Linked DNA regions of Homo sapiens: regions 1, 3 and 4 are each linked to region 2. Evidence: promoter capture Hi-C in 16 types of primary human blood cells and fetal thymus (Javierre and others, 2016). All regions are on one chromosome and are shown on one strand. Each heading gives the region's core, a stretch centred on a gene start or on the middle of the fragment in contact. The rest is flanking DNA. Distances are from core to core; before and after follow the strand shown.

Region 1 (2,718 bases), core at 46-2,545, 440 kb before region 2:
TACTTTCCAAAAAATGTGACCATTACCCTACCTTAAATATAAAGAATAAGTATTAAAGAAAAATGATGCAATTTTTATGAGAAAAGGTTTATATAATCTACTTTTTGTACATGGGATATATCTAACAGATAAAAAATAATTGAACTTATTCAATCAAAGTAAAATTCACTTTATAAGGAATGGTGAACGAACAGTTTTACTTTTAATGGGAATTATGTTTAACAGATGATCATACAGTCTTTGAAGATATTAAATTCATTTACATTTCTCTCTATATTAAAATGTCAGCAAATGTAGAAGCAAATTAATGAAAGTATCTGTCTAAATGAGTTAATATTCTTAAAGCACTTAGAACATTCCTAACACATAGTATAACTCTGTTAGGTCAATCAGTCAATCACATGGGCTCTAGTAATTGAAAAGCTCCTTTTTAAAGCTTTATACTGGATACTAAAAGCTTTCTTTTGTCATGATATATTTGAATTATCAACTTTTTCTTCAATACTTTTTATATTCACTGTGCTAGGAAGGCCACAAAATAAAAGGATTACTTCTACATTTAGTTCAGTTGAAAAAGAGCACCAAAATATGATTTGAATGTTACATATAGTAATGTTTCACTATGTGTATAATGATTGAGTAAATTAGGTAAATGATAAAATATTGACATTTCTAACATTTTAGTACCTCAGTGTTCTGTACTACAGTCTCCCATTGTTTTTCTCAATGTGAAAATCAGAGCAGAAATTAAGGAACTTCAGCATTATAGGTAATATTCTCTTTTTTTAAAGAGGGTCTGAGGTCTGTTGGTTTGAGGGTCGTAGGTGGGTGTGATGGGTACACAGGAGTTAATTTTATTATTATGCTTTTATAACATATATTATTCTTCTGTATACAACAACGATTTCATAATAGAAATTGTTTTTAAAATAGAAAGTGTTAAGAAAAGCTATTCGCTGGTCGGGCGCAGTGGCTCATGCCTGTAATCCCAGCACTTTGGGAGGCCAAGGTGGGCCAATCACAAGGTCAAGAGATCGAGACTGTCCTGGCTGACACAGCGAAACTCCGTCTCTACTTAACATACAAAAAATTTAGCCAGGTGTGGTGGCACGCGCCTGTAGTCCCAGCTACTCAGGAGGCTGAGGCAGGAGAATCACTTGAACCCGGGAGGCGGAGGTTGCAGTGAGCCAAGATTGCGCCACTGCACTGCACTCCAGCCTGGGTGACAGAGTGAGACTCCATCTCAAAAAAAGAAAAGAAAAGAAAAGCTATTCCCCAGTAATACCAAAAACTAATTAAATTATTTATTGTGAAATTGTTAAACTTGTCCACATAAATAATATTTTATGTTAAAGCAAATATTTGTGATAATCTGAACTTTTTTATATAAAAATAAACATTTAAAATTAGTAATTGACTAGTACACTTAGATGAAGAATTAATTAAAAATAAATATAACAAAGTGGCCATTTGTTTGCATCTTCTTCAGATGATGATCATCACTATATAAGTTATTTCTAATAAATTTGAGCCATGGTTATCTTCTCTGAGTACATATGTTTAAGTTTTGCCTGTTTCTTCAAAAGATATATTGAAACATTAGTTGTGATTATACTGTTAAGTGTCATTTTCATGGTATAAACTATTCATATTTTTTTCTTTTTGGAAGAGTCAGAGTGGATAATCAATACGCCTCTGTGGCCTTGTGATAGACTGGATGTGCTTAATCGACATAATTTACTCTGTACAATTGCACATGAAATCTTAGCCAAGAGCCTTTATAGACAGACATTTGAAGTTTTGCAGAATCTACCAGGTTTTCAAAATTCCCAAGGTATGTTTTTTAAAAGTCTATCTTAATTATCTCTTGCCCATCTGGTGTTTAACTGTTAATAAGAAATAGTTATCCACCTGTTTTGATTGAGTTTTATATTCCAGCATATTTTTTAATGAAGTAGTTTTCTGTAAAATATGTTCTCTGCAAATTGAATATACTTTCCTGATGGTTTAAAAAAATCTGAGATGCTTATCTTTGGGTTGTTTGTCAGCAGTTCCTAAGACAAGCATTTTTATCATTCCCTTTTCCCTACTTCTGTCAAGTCATCAGCAAACAATATGTTTAAATGCCCTGAGCAAGCTTTTTCTCTTATCACTGAATAAATACAGAACTTAGTTTACATTACCTAGGAACACAGGTAAACTTGAAAGAAATGGAGGAAGTGAAACAGATGCCAAGTTCAAACGCCAATGTGGGAAATGGTAGTCAGTACTCTTGAATGTTGGGTGTCCATGAGCAAAAGCTTTGGGTCAAGAATGAGCTATGTGATAGGTTCAGAGGATGACGAAAACGTTAACCTGAGGGCCTCCCCTCAGTACTTTCATCGTACTATCTATAAATTTTCATTTTTCCACTTAATTCCACTGTGCTCCTGTATTGTAATGAGCATTCTTATCTGTTTCTCCTTATACAAAGTGAGCTCAATCAGGATGGTACTATTTTCTTTACCTTGGTATTCCTGGCCCAATGGCTGCTATCTAGCAATCTCTTAATATACAATTAGTTGGTAATGAAACAAAGTAGTAATAGGGAGATTGGACAGATAGTTGTGCCAGATTTTGGAAGACCCTAAATGTCAGGCTAAAGGAATTTTCTTCTCTGTGTATAAAAAGGGATCACTAGAGTTTTGGGTCTAGGGAGTGATATAATGAAATTGGTGT
Region 2 (2,817 bases), core at 63-2,562:
CAACAATAGTCAGGTGTGGCTCTTTCCTGAAGCTCCTCTTCTTCTATTTAGACCCAGGATATTTACGGCTTCTGCTTACTCTTCTTTTTTTTCTTTTTTTTGAGACGGAGTCTCGCTCTGTCGCCCAGTCTGGAGTGCAGTGGCGCGATCTCGGCTCACTGCAAGCTCCTCCTCCTGGGTTCACGCCATTCTCCTGCCTCAGCCTCCCGAGTAGCTGGGACTACAGGCGCCCGCCACCATGCCTGGCTAATTTTTTGTATTTTTAGTAGAGACGCGGTTTCACTGTTTTAGCCAGGATGGTCTCGATCTCCTGACCTCGTGATCTGCCGCCTCAGCCTCCCAGAGCGCTGGGATTACAGGCGTGAGCCACCAGGCCCGGCTTTTTTTTTTTTTTTTTGAGACGGAGTCTCGCTCTGTTGTCCAGGCTGGAGTGCAGCTGCGCCATCTCAACTCACTGCAACGTCCACCTCCCGGGTTCGAGCGATTCTGTCTCAGCCTCCGGAGTAGCTGGGACTACAGGCATGTGCCACCATGCCCGGCTAATTTTTGTATTTTTAGCAGAGACGGGGGGTTTCACCATATTGGCTATTGGCTCTGCTGGTCTCGAACTCCTGACCTCAGGTGATCCGCCCACCTAGGCCTCCCAAAGTACTGGGATTACAGGCGTGAGCCACTGTGCCCGACCTTCTCTATATTATTTTTATTTATTTTTAATTAACAAAGCATAGAAACAGATTCAGGACATTCCTCCGAAGACGTTCCAGACTCGAGTCCTAGGACATGGTTGGGGCGGGGGTCATTTGATCGAGTGGCCTGTGTCCTTATCTGGAATACGGGACGACGCTGTAACTCTAACTCACCCTGCGAACTCACAGCTTTTGAGGTAAACAAGTGAGAAAGAAGAGACAATAAAGTGATCTTTCTTTACCATCTACCAAGGACCAGGTGGTTTACACGTCAGTTCATTTTCAGGAACACAGCAGCGCTCTGAAAACTACAGAGCTTCCTGGGCGTAGGGGGCTGTGGTCGCTTGAAAAGAACCAGCCTGGGGGTCCGAGTTCCACCGGAATTGGGTTCGAGCGCGGGTGAAAAGAGGGACCCGACAGCACCCACCCTCCAAGTAGAGGCAAAAGTTGAAAGTGGCGGGCTGGCTGCGCTTCCGAAGAAACACGACTGGCGAAGGCTCACCTTAGTCTCTACGGTGGGTCCCTCCCTGTAGCCGACCCGTTCCTTGAAGCGGGCCAGAAACGCCGGCTCGGCTGGCCGCACGTACGATACCTGGTTCCGCTTGCTCATGGTAGCTCTGGGTAAAGACAGAAGACAGGTTCCGCGACGGATTCGCGACGATACAGAGGCGCTTAGCTGTGACGTCACTGGGCCACGCCCCCGATGCGTAGGCCGGGCAACATGGCGGCCTCCATGCGGGCGTCAACGTCCGATCCAAGCGCCAAATTCAAATTTGCGGCCATCTTGAGCGGGCGGAATTCAGTCGCGCGCGGTGCAGTCGGGAGGTGGAGGCACCGGCTGCATTGTTTTCGGGATCGAGGGGTGAGGGCGCTATGGCACCCGGCTGCAAAAGTAAGTCTGGGCCCCCGGCTTCGTTACCCTATTTTTGCCCCCAAATACAGCTGTGAAAGGATGGCAGCCTCGGACCGCCCGCAAGGTTCTTGCTAGGCATGAACTGCAGGAGCTGAGTGACCGGCGGGGACGTTTGGGAATCCCGCTCTGTCGCTCAAAGACAATACGCTAGCCGAAAAGCTCATCCCTTCCTTCAGTGTCCTGTGCGCATGCCAGGAGTCTGGCGCAGTTCTAGGCGCTCGGGATGAGCAGTGGACCTGACGTTCTTCCCTTTCTTTCCCTTGGTTCTGCTGTTTCTTCGCAGGCCTCTTCCCACATCCCGACCAGGGCTACCTCTCTAGATATCCTTGTCTCAGGATCGGCTTTTGCTCCCACCAGCTTCTGCGTATTTCTACATTTCTGACCTTCCTATAGGGAAGGGTTTATTTATATTCCAAACATTTCTTTCTCCTCTTTCCTTAAATAAATGGAATGTTAAAACACAGATGTCAGCAATGTCTTTATGTTCTCACAGTCTCTATTTTCACTTAAAGGAGACCCGTCCGATTTCTTTCTCTTTTTCACGGAGGAGAGCACTGTCATTTTGCTTATGATAAACCCTACAGTTTTCACTAACGTAGTCATTTGCTGTGCCTGTGTACGTGCTCCACTTCTCACATTGCCACATCTCTTAAGGAGTCTTATTTTTGTAAACCTGATTATGAGCTGATTTAATGGGATCTTTGTGAGTGGTCTGAATGGTAATGAGGAGAGGCCTGGATTAGATGATTAAGAATTTGTGAACTTCTGTCATTTGAGCTTTCCAACGCCGTTAATGTTTCTAGCTTTCTGTCAATTGTAGTCGTTTTTGATGGGTTTGTTGTTTCATTAATCTTTTAGGTCGATCACACCTAATCGGAACACCTCCTTATGCTACCTTTTTGCATATAAAATATTCCTTTTCCTTTCATCATTTTCAGTATTCAAGGACTATGAGCTCACAAAATGGTACCTTATTGGAGAGAAATGTTCATCCTGCTTTCTGAACAATCATACTGTTTGTTCTTTGTTTCCACTTTATGGATCAGTCACTAAATCTGGACTCAAGCAAAAAATTTGATGCCTGTTAAATAAGTAAAACATCTGCTTATTTAATGAGATATATGTATGTGACTGAGGGCTCTTGTCTGAAAACCAAATTTGAGAACCTTTCTAAAGTGGTGGGAGCACTCTCCTTTATGATGGTGGTGATGCCATGGG
Region 3 (2,700 bases), core at 90-2,589, 420 kb before region 2:
TTTGCCACCTTGTGGAGAGGCATAACACTTGGGGGATTTTCTGAGGACTTTGTACTAGTGGCATATGTAACTCCTGTGCAAGTATGTGAGGGTAATAAAGTATCTGGATGGTAGGGGACAGGGGTTGATTGGGGCATGGAGCAGATGGCAAGGGGTGCACAATGAGTTTTGACATGCGTGCATTACGGAGATGCATAGAAATTCTAGTTACTTTTAAATTTGGAGGGAAGAAGTCTGGTACCAGATGCTGGCTTTAGGTAACAGGGAAGTCTAGTTACCTCTAAATTCCTCAGGTAAGGAGTTTCTGCCTAAGGATGGTCGGCTTCATGGCCACCAGGTGATCTTTGCTTTCAATTCTATTGGCTTGATTTCATCTGTGGCAGTTTCTGGGGGGAATCAAAATTATAGGAACAAAATAAAACTAACAGTAAAACTTTCATGCTGACTGGGGAATGCTTAACGTTTAAAAATAGGTGCTGAAGGGTCCAAAGCAAACAACACAAGCCGGAAAAGAAATGTTTAAAAGTTAGCTATATTTATACAAGGAAAACCAAAAGAAATACTTAAATGAGACTTTTAAAATTCGAGGCTCTCCACTGAGACTTGTTCCCTGGCGCCAGCTCCGGGAGTTCCGCAGAGCCTCGCCCCCTGCCAGGGCGCCCGGGGCGAAGGACCGCACGGCGCATGCGCGCCTCCTCCAGCAGTCCCTTTCCCCTTCTTCCCCAAGATCCAGCGCGTGCTCGGTTGCCCTTCTCCGTTCCTTGCAGGCCCTTGGGTCAGGACCCACCACCTGCCGGACCATCATTTTCCGAGTCCCTCCGGCCTAGTCGGAGTGCTCGCTCGCGCCTCCTAAAGCTCTCAGCCGAGCGCGCCGAGACCCCTCAGGGCGGCCGGTAAGAAGGCGGAGGGGCGGGGGCTCAAAGCGCGCGGCGAAGGTGCAGCAGTTACCAGGGTGCTGACGTCAGCTAGAGGCAGGGCACCGCGGAAGGTTGAATCCACGCCCTGGCTGTGCGCAGGCGCCGTAGGGGGAAGGCCTGGCACGCTCCAGCCAACCAGGGCGTCACCTGCAGCTCGTCCCCCTGCCCGGGCTTGCCTCGAGCGCCCTGCCGCCGCCGGAGCGGGGAGGGTGTTGGGGGCAGGTGGAGCCGGGAGGGCCCAGCTGAGAATTCAGGGTTGGGGGCTCAGAGGGCACTGCGGCTAGGAGCCCGTCAAAGCCTGTCGCCCACCGGGGCGAGGGCAGGTGGGAGCGCCTGGCCGTGCGTCGCGCGCTGGTTGGCCAGCTGACGCCCCAGTGCGCATGCGCGTCCGAACAGCCCTGCGGGCGGAGCGACTGTCCTCCCTTCTGGTGTACTGGGTGGGAGGTGGAACTAGTCGGACAAAGCCCTCGCGTCGGACCCTTGCCAGAACTGTAAGGAGCAAGAGGGGAGGGGCTCCGGTGGTGCATTCATGCTCCTCTAGGGGGGAAGCGGGGTCGGAGGGGAGTGCTCAGAGCCACCTTAGCGCAAAGTGCTAACTTTTGAATTGAGGCAGTGCCAGGGGACGCAGTATCCGCATCGCATCTACATTTTAACTCGCTGTGAAATGAGAACGCAAAGACGATTTAGGTTTTATTGTTTCCGACTTATATTTTTCCGAGGTCTTTGATTTACGGGAAATTGTTACGTACTAAATCTCATATAGCGAGATTTAGAAAAGGAAGCTACAGAATCTAGGCTAATGTATCTAATAGCATTTCCTGCTTTTGCTCTTTTTCTTTGCCTTTTTCCCCTACTCTAAGAAGTTCATATTCAACTGAAAAGCCATGAAAATTACCGCTTTTGTCCCTCCTTGATATAACAAACTGCTTTCAGAAACCGTACAAGATAGTCACTAAGGGAAGTCACAGTTCAAATGAGAGTGGCATGATATTAATTTTGTTAAAATAAATTACTTTCAAATAAAAGTTGTGCCAAATGGTCAAAGCTCAATCCTGAGAGCTCTATTTGGCACACACTCGGTGTTAGTTGAAAGTAAGCAAAACAAAACCGTTTTTCGTGTACTCTTCCATAATTTGGATTTTTCACTGATTTAGGTATCTTTCCACCAAATTTGGTTTGAAACTGCACAGATTTAATGCCTCACTTAGAACAGATTTTAGGTAAAATTAGAAATTTTCACTTTATGAAACAGAAACTAATATCACTGTTAAGTAGATTAAAGTAGTCATTTACAATGGTTTGTAAATAAATTTTATCCTTCCCGGTCCTCTGCCCTCTTCCAGGAAAGGCACCATTTCCTTAGAGAAGACCTTCCTGAGCTCTCCCCGCCCCATTCCAAGTGTTGCGTCTGGGAGTTTCTCATATTCTGTGCATGTTTGTATTATTGCATTTACTGCGTTGTTTTATACTTATCTGCTTGTGTCTGTTTTTACACTCCCCCCTCCCTCTAAAAGTCTTTTGAGTATTAGAATTGTCTTAATAATTTTCTAGTCCCAATGCTTTACGCAGGACCTGGCCCATAAGTGGTGATGAATGGGTGAGTTAAAGACTCGGTATGCCTCCCAAGTGTGATAAGACAGTGCAACCTCTTCAGTTATTTTATAGCATTTTCCAAGTGGAAGTATAGTGGGCTAAGTGCAGTATGGACAGGAACCACCTATGTAAGAATTTATCTGAAGACGAGAAGCCTGCGGTTGATGTGGATGTCCCAGACTTTTGGAGC
Region 4 (2,700 bases), core at 187-2,686, 400 kb before region 2:
ACACCGTCTCTACTAAAAATGCAAAAATTAACTGGGCACGGTGGCGTGCACCTGTAATCCCAGCTACTTGCAAGGCTGAGGCAGGAGAATTGCTTGAACCCAGGGTACAGAGGTTGAGCCAAGATCATGCCACTGCACTCCAGCCAGGGCAACAGAGTGAGACTCTGTCTCAAAAAAAAAAGCTTAGGATGGAAAAGGTAAATTATAACATTTAAAAATAGGTGTCGTGGAAGTGCTTTCAAAAAACCGCAAATAATTTCATTTGGATTTAAACACCGTACTTTTAAAAAACACTCCCAGGTGGGTTACAAAACTTAAGAATGAGAATATCACGGCCAGGTATGGTGGCTCATGCCTGCAATCCCAGTACTTTGGGAGGCTGAGGCGGGTGGATTACCTGAGGTCAGGAGTTTGAGACCAGCCTGACCAACATGGTGAGACCCTGTCTCTACTAAAAATACAAAAAAAAAAAAAAAACAGTCGGCGGTAGTGGCACATGCCTGTAGTCCCAGCTACTCGGGAGGCTGAGGCAGGAGAGTCACTTGAACCTGAGAGGCAGAAGATTGCATGCAGTGAGCCAAGATCATGCCACTGCACTCCAGCCTGGGCAACAGAGCAAGACTCCATCTCAAAAAAAAAGAATGAGAATATCAAGTTATCCAACTAGTATAATTTTAGCATGCTAATAATGAGGGAATGAACTAAAAGACATCTGTATCTCTTTTTAAGTATAATAATTATCAAAATGTTTGCTACTATAAAGAAAAAATTGAGCCAGGCATGGTGGCTCATGACTGTAATCCCATTGCTTTGAGAGGGTAAGGCAGGAGTATTACTTGAGGCCAGCAGTTTGAGATCAGCAAAAGAATTAGTTGGGTGTGGTGGCACGTGCCTGTAGTTCCAGCTACTTGGGAGGGTAAGGTGGGAGGATCACTTGACCCCCGGAGATCACACCGCTGCACTCCAGCCTGGGCAACAAAGCAAGACTCTGTCTGAAAGAAAAAAAGAGAGAAAGAGATAGATATAGACAGATATATATAGAAAGAGAATTACACTATTGGATATTAAGATTTTTTGATCTGAATAAGAAACTTATAAAGAAAATTGTTATCATTTGCAGTGAAGTCAGCTGAATTTCAAAGTGGAGTATTGAGGGGAAATTATTATGTTATTTAATATTTCTCATTTTGCACCAGAAAAATTTATAACCACTGTTTTAGAAACCATGTGGTACTCACTGCTTGTAAAACTAATAGATTTCAGAAAACCACAAAGTATCTATCTTGTTTCTGCTGTGCATAGTACGTTTAGTTTTATTGTCACTTATACATTGAGGATTTGTGTGTGTGTGAGTGCCTCAATGAATAACCAGTCCACATCTTTTTAAAAGGTTATGTCTAGAGAAGATATTTCCACACTGGTTTCCCTTTTCAAGAGCTTTATCGGGAGCTGAAGCAGTCAATGCCTTGAGGCCTTTCTATTTTGCAGTACATCCAGATTTCTTTGGACAGCACCCCGTAGAAAGGGTAAACATTTATTTATTTTTAAACCATTAGTGTACATTTCTGCTTATTTACCTTTGATACAATATAATACATAGAGTTCTATAAATGTGGATTATTCTGTTGTGGTGATATAATCAATGCTTTGAACTAATTTGAAATGTAGATACTGAAAATTGAAAATAGAGCTTTTTTTATGAAAGCTGTCATTGTTTTGTGCAGGCAATAAAGCTGTCATTTAAACTCTTTAGAGTACTAGTAATCATGTTTTTGGTACCAATTTTTGAAGTACAGTTGAGGGTTTGAAAGAAAACTTGAGACCTTTATTATCATGATCAATCTCTCTCTCTTTTTTTTTTTTAAGGATGATACATGGAAGAGTTTTCAATGCCCTAGTGATTTTTCCTTATGATGCATGCTGCTGGACCACTCCCCTACAACATCAGTTAATGTGTGCTCCAGGAATACAAACTGATATGAAAAATGACTTATGGTAGATGTAGTTAAGACAGTCAATATATTTTAACATTAGAAAATACAGTCAGTCCTTCATATCCATGGGTTTTACATCCATGGATTCAACCAACCTCAGACTGAAAATATTAGGGGAAAAAAATACATCTGTACTACACATGAACAAACTTCTCTTTCTTGTCATTATTCCCTGAACAACACAGGATAACAACTACTTACATAGCACTTACATTATATTAGATATTATAAGTAATCTAGAAATGACTTAAAGTATATGGGAGGATACACATAGGTTATTTGCAAATACTACACTATTTTATATGAGAGACTTGAGCATTCGCAGATTTCGGTATCCACGGGAGGTCCTGGAACCAATCCCCTATGGATACCAAGGGACTGCTATGTATTACAAAGCCACATGCTTTGGAATTACTTCAGTGTTCCTTCTATTTTCATTAACACTGATATCTAGTTTAATATGAAAAGGAACTTGAAATCTTGAAAATTAGAACATCGTTATTTTTTTCTACTTGCAATGGAAAATCTATTTTGCTTTTTTGCTTCTAGGAAAATATTCTGATTATGATATGTGATATGTTGGCTACTCAAAGTCAGAACTTTTCAAAGTAATCAGTAAATTGAATCAACAGAAAAATATTCATTAACTCGGGGATGCATTAATAAAGTTTTTAAATTCAAAATGTATAGAAAAATCAAGCTTAGT

Evidence for each region. Contacts are between HindIII fragments. The CHiCAGO score rates a contact against its expected background, and 5 or more counts as called.
Region 1: a contact is called between a fragment that was not itself captured here and the fragment with the promoter of KIAA1143 in region 2, in 2 of 17 cell types (neutrophils and erythroblasts). The highest score is 5.2, in neutrophils.
Region 3: the fragment with the promoter of TCAIM here is called in contact with the fragment with the promoter of KIAA1143 in region 2 in 2 of 17 cell types (monocytes and neutrophils); the score reaches 5.7 in monocytes.
Region 4: a contact is called between a fragment that was not itself captured here and the fragment with the promoter of KIAA1143 in region 2, in 1 of 17 cell types (neutrophils). The highest score is 5.2, in neutrophils.

What each region holds. Positions count from the first base shown.
Region 1 is chr3:44,319,358-44,322,075 of GRCh38, forward strand. It overlaps TOPAZ1 (testis and ovary specific TOPAZ 1), which reads left to right. Exons shown (of 20, transcript NM_001145030.2): 17 at 1,670-1,834. Among named protein-coding and RNA genes, the nearest start is that of TCAIM, 18 kb to the right of the region's middle. The HindIII fragment of the contact is 1,680 bases long and covers 456-2,135 here.
Region 2 is chr3:44,760,307-44,763,123 of GRCh38, forward strand. It overlaps KIAA1143, which reads right to left and starts at 1,313. Exons shown (of 3, transcript NM_020696.4): 1 at 1,189-1,313. The coding sequence starts at 1,296. It overlaps KIF15 (kinesin family member 15), which reads left to right and starts at 1,488. Exons shown (of 35, transcript NM_020242.3): 1 at 1,488-1,578. The coding sequence starts at 1,560. RefSeq lists enhancers at 1-468, 1,259-1,538. The HindIII fragment of the contact is 21,704 bases long and covers 1-2,817 here.
Region 3 is chr3:44,337,427-44,340,126 of GRCh38, forward strand. It overlaps TCAIM (T cell activation inhibitor, mitochondrial), which reads left to right and starts at 1,340. Exons shown (of 11, transcript NM_173826.4): 1 at 1,340-1,408. It overlaps LOC105377055 (a long non-coding RNA gene), which reads right to left and starts at 692. Exons shown (of 4, transcript XR_940782.4): 1 at 279-692. RefSeq lists enhancers at 353-1,006, 691-860 and a silencer at 1,001-1,390. The HindIII fragment of the contact is 5,445 bases long and covers 1-2,700 here.
Region 4 is chr3:44,356,351-44,359,050 of GRCh38, forward strand. TCAIM (T cell activation inhibitor, mitochondrial) reads left to right here. Exons shown (of 11, transcript NM_173826.4): 3 at 1,391-1,526. Among named protein-coding and RNA genes, the nearest start is that of TCAIM, 19 kb to the left of the region's middle. The HindIII fragment of the contact is 2,512 bases long and covers 181-2,692 here.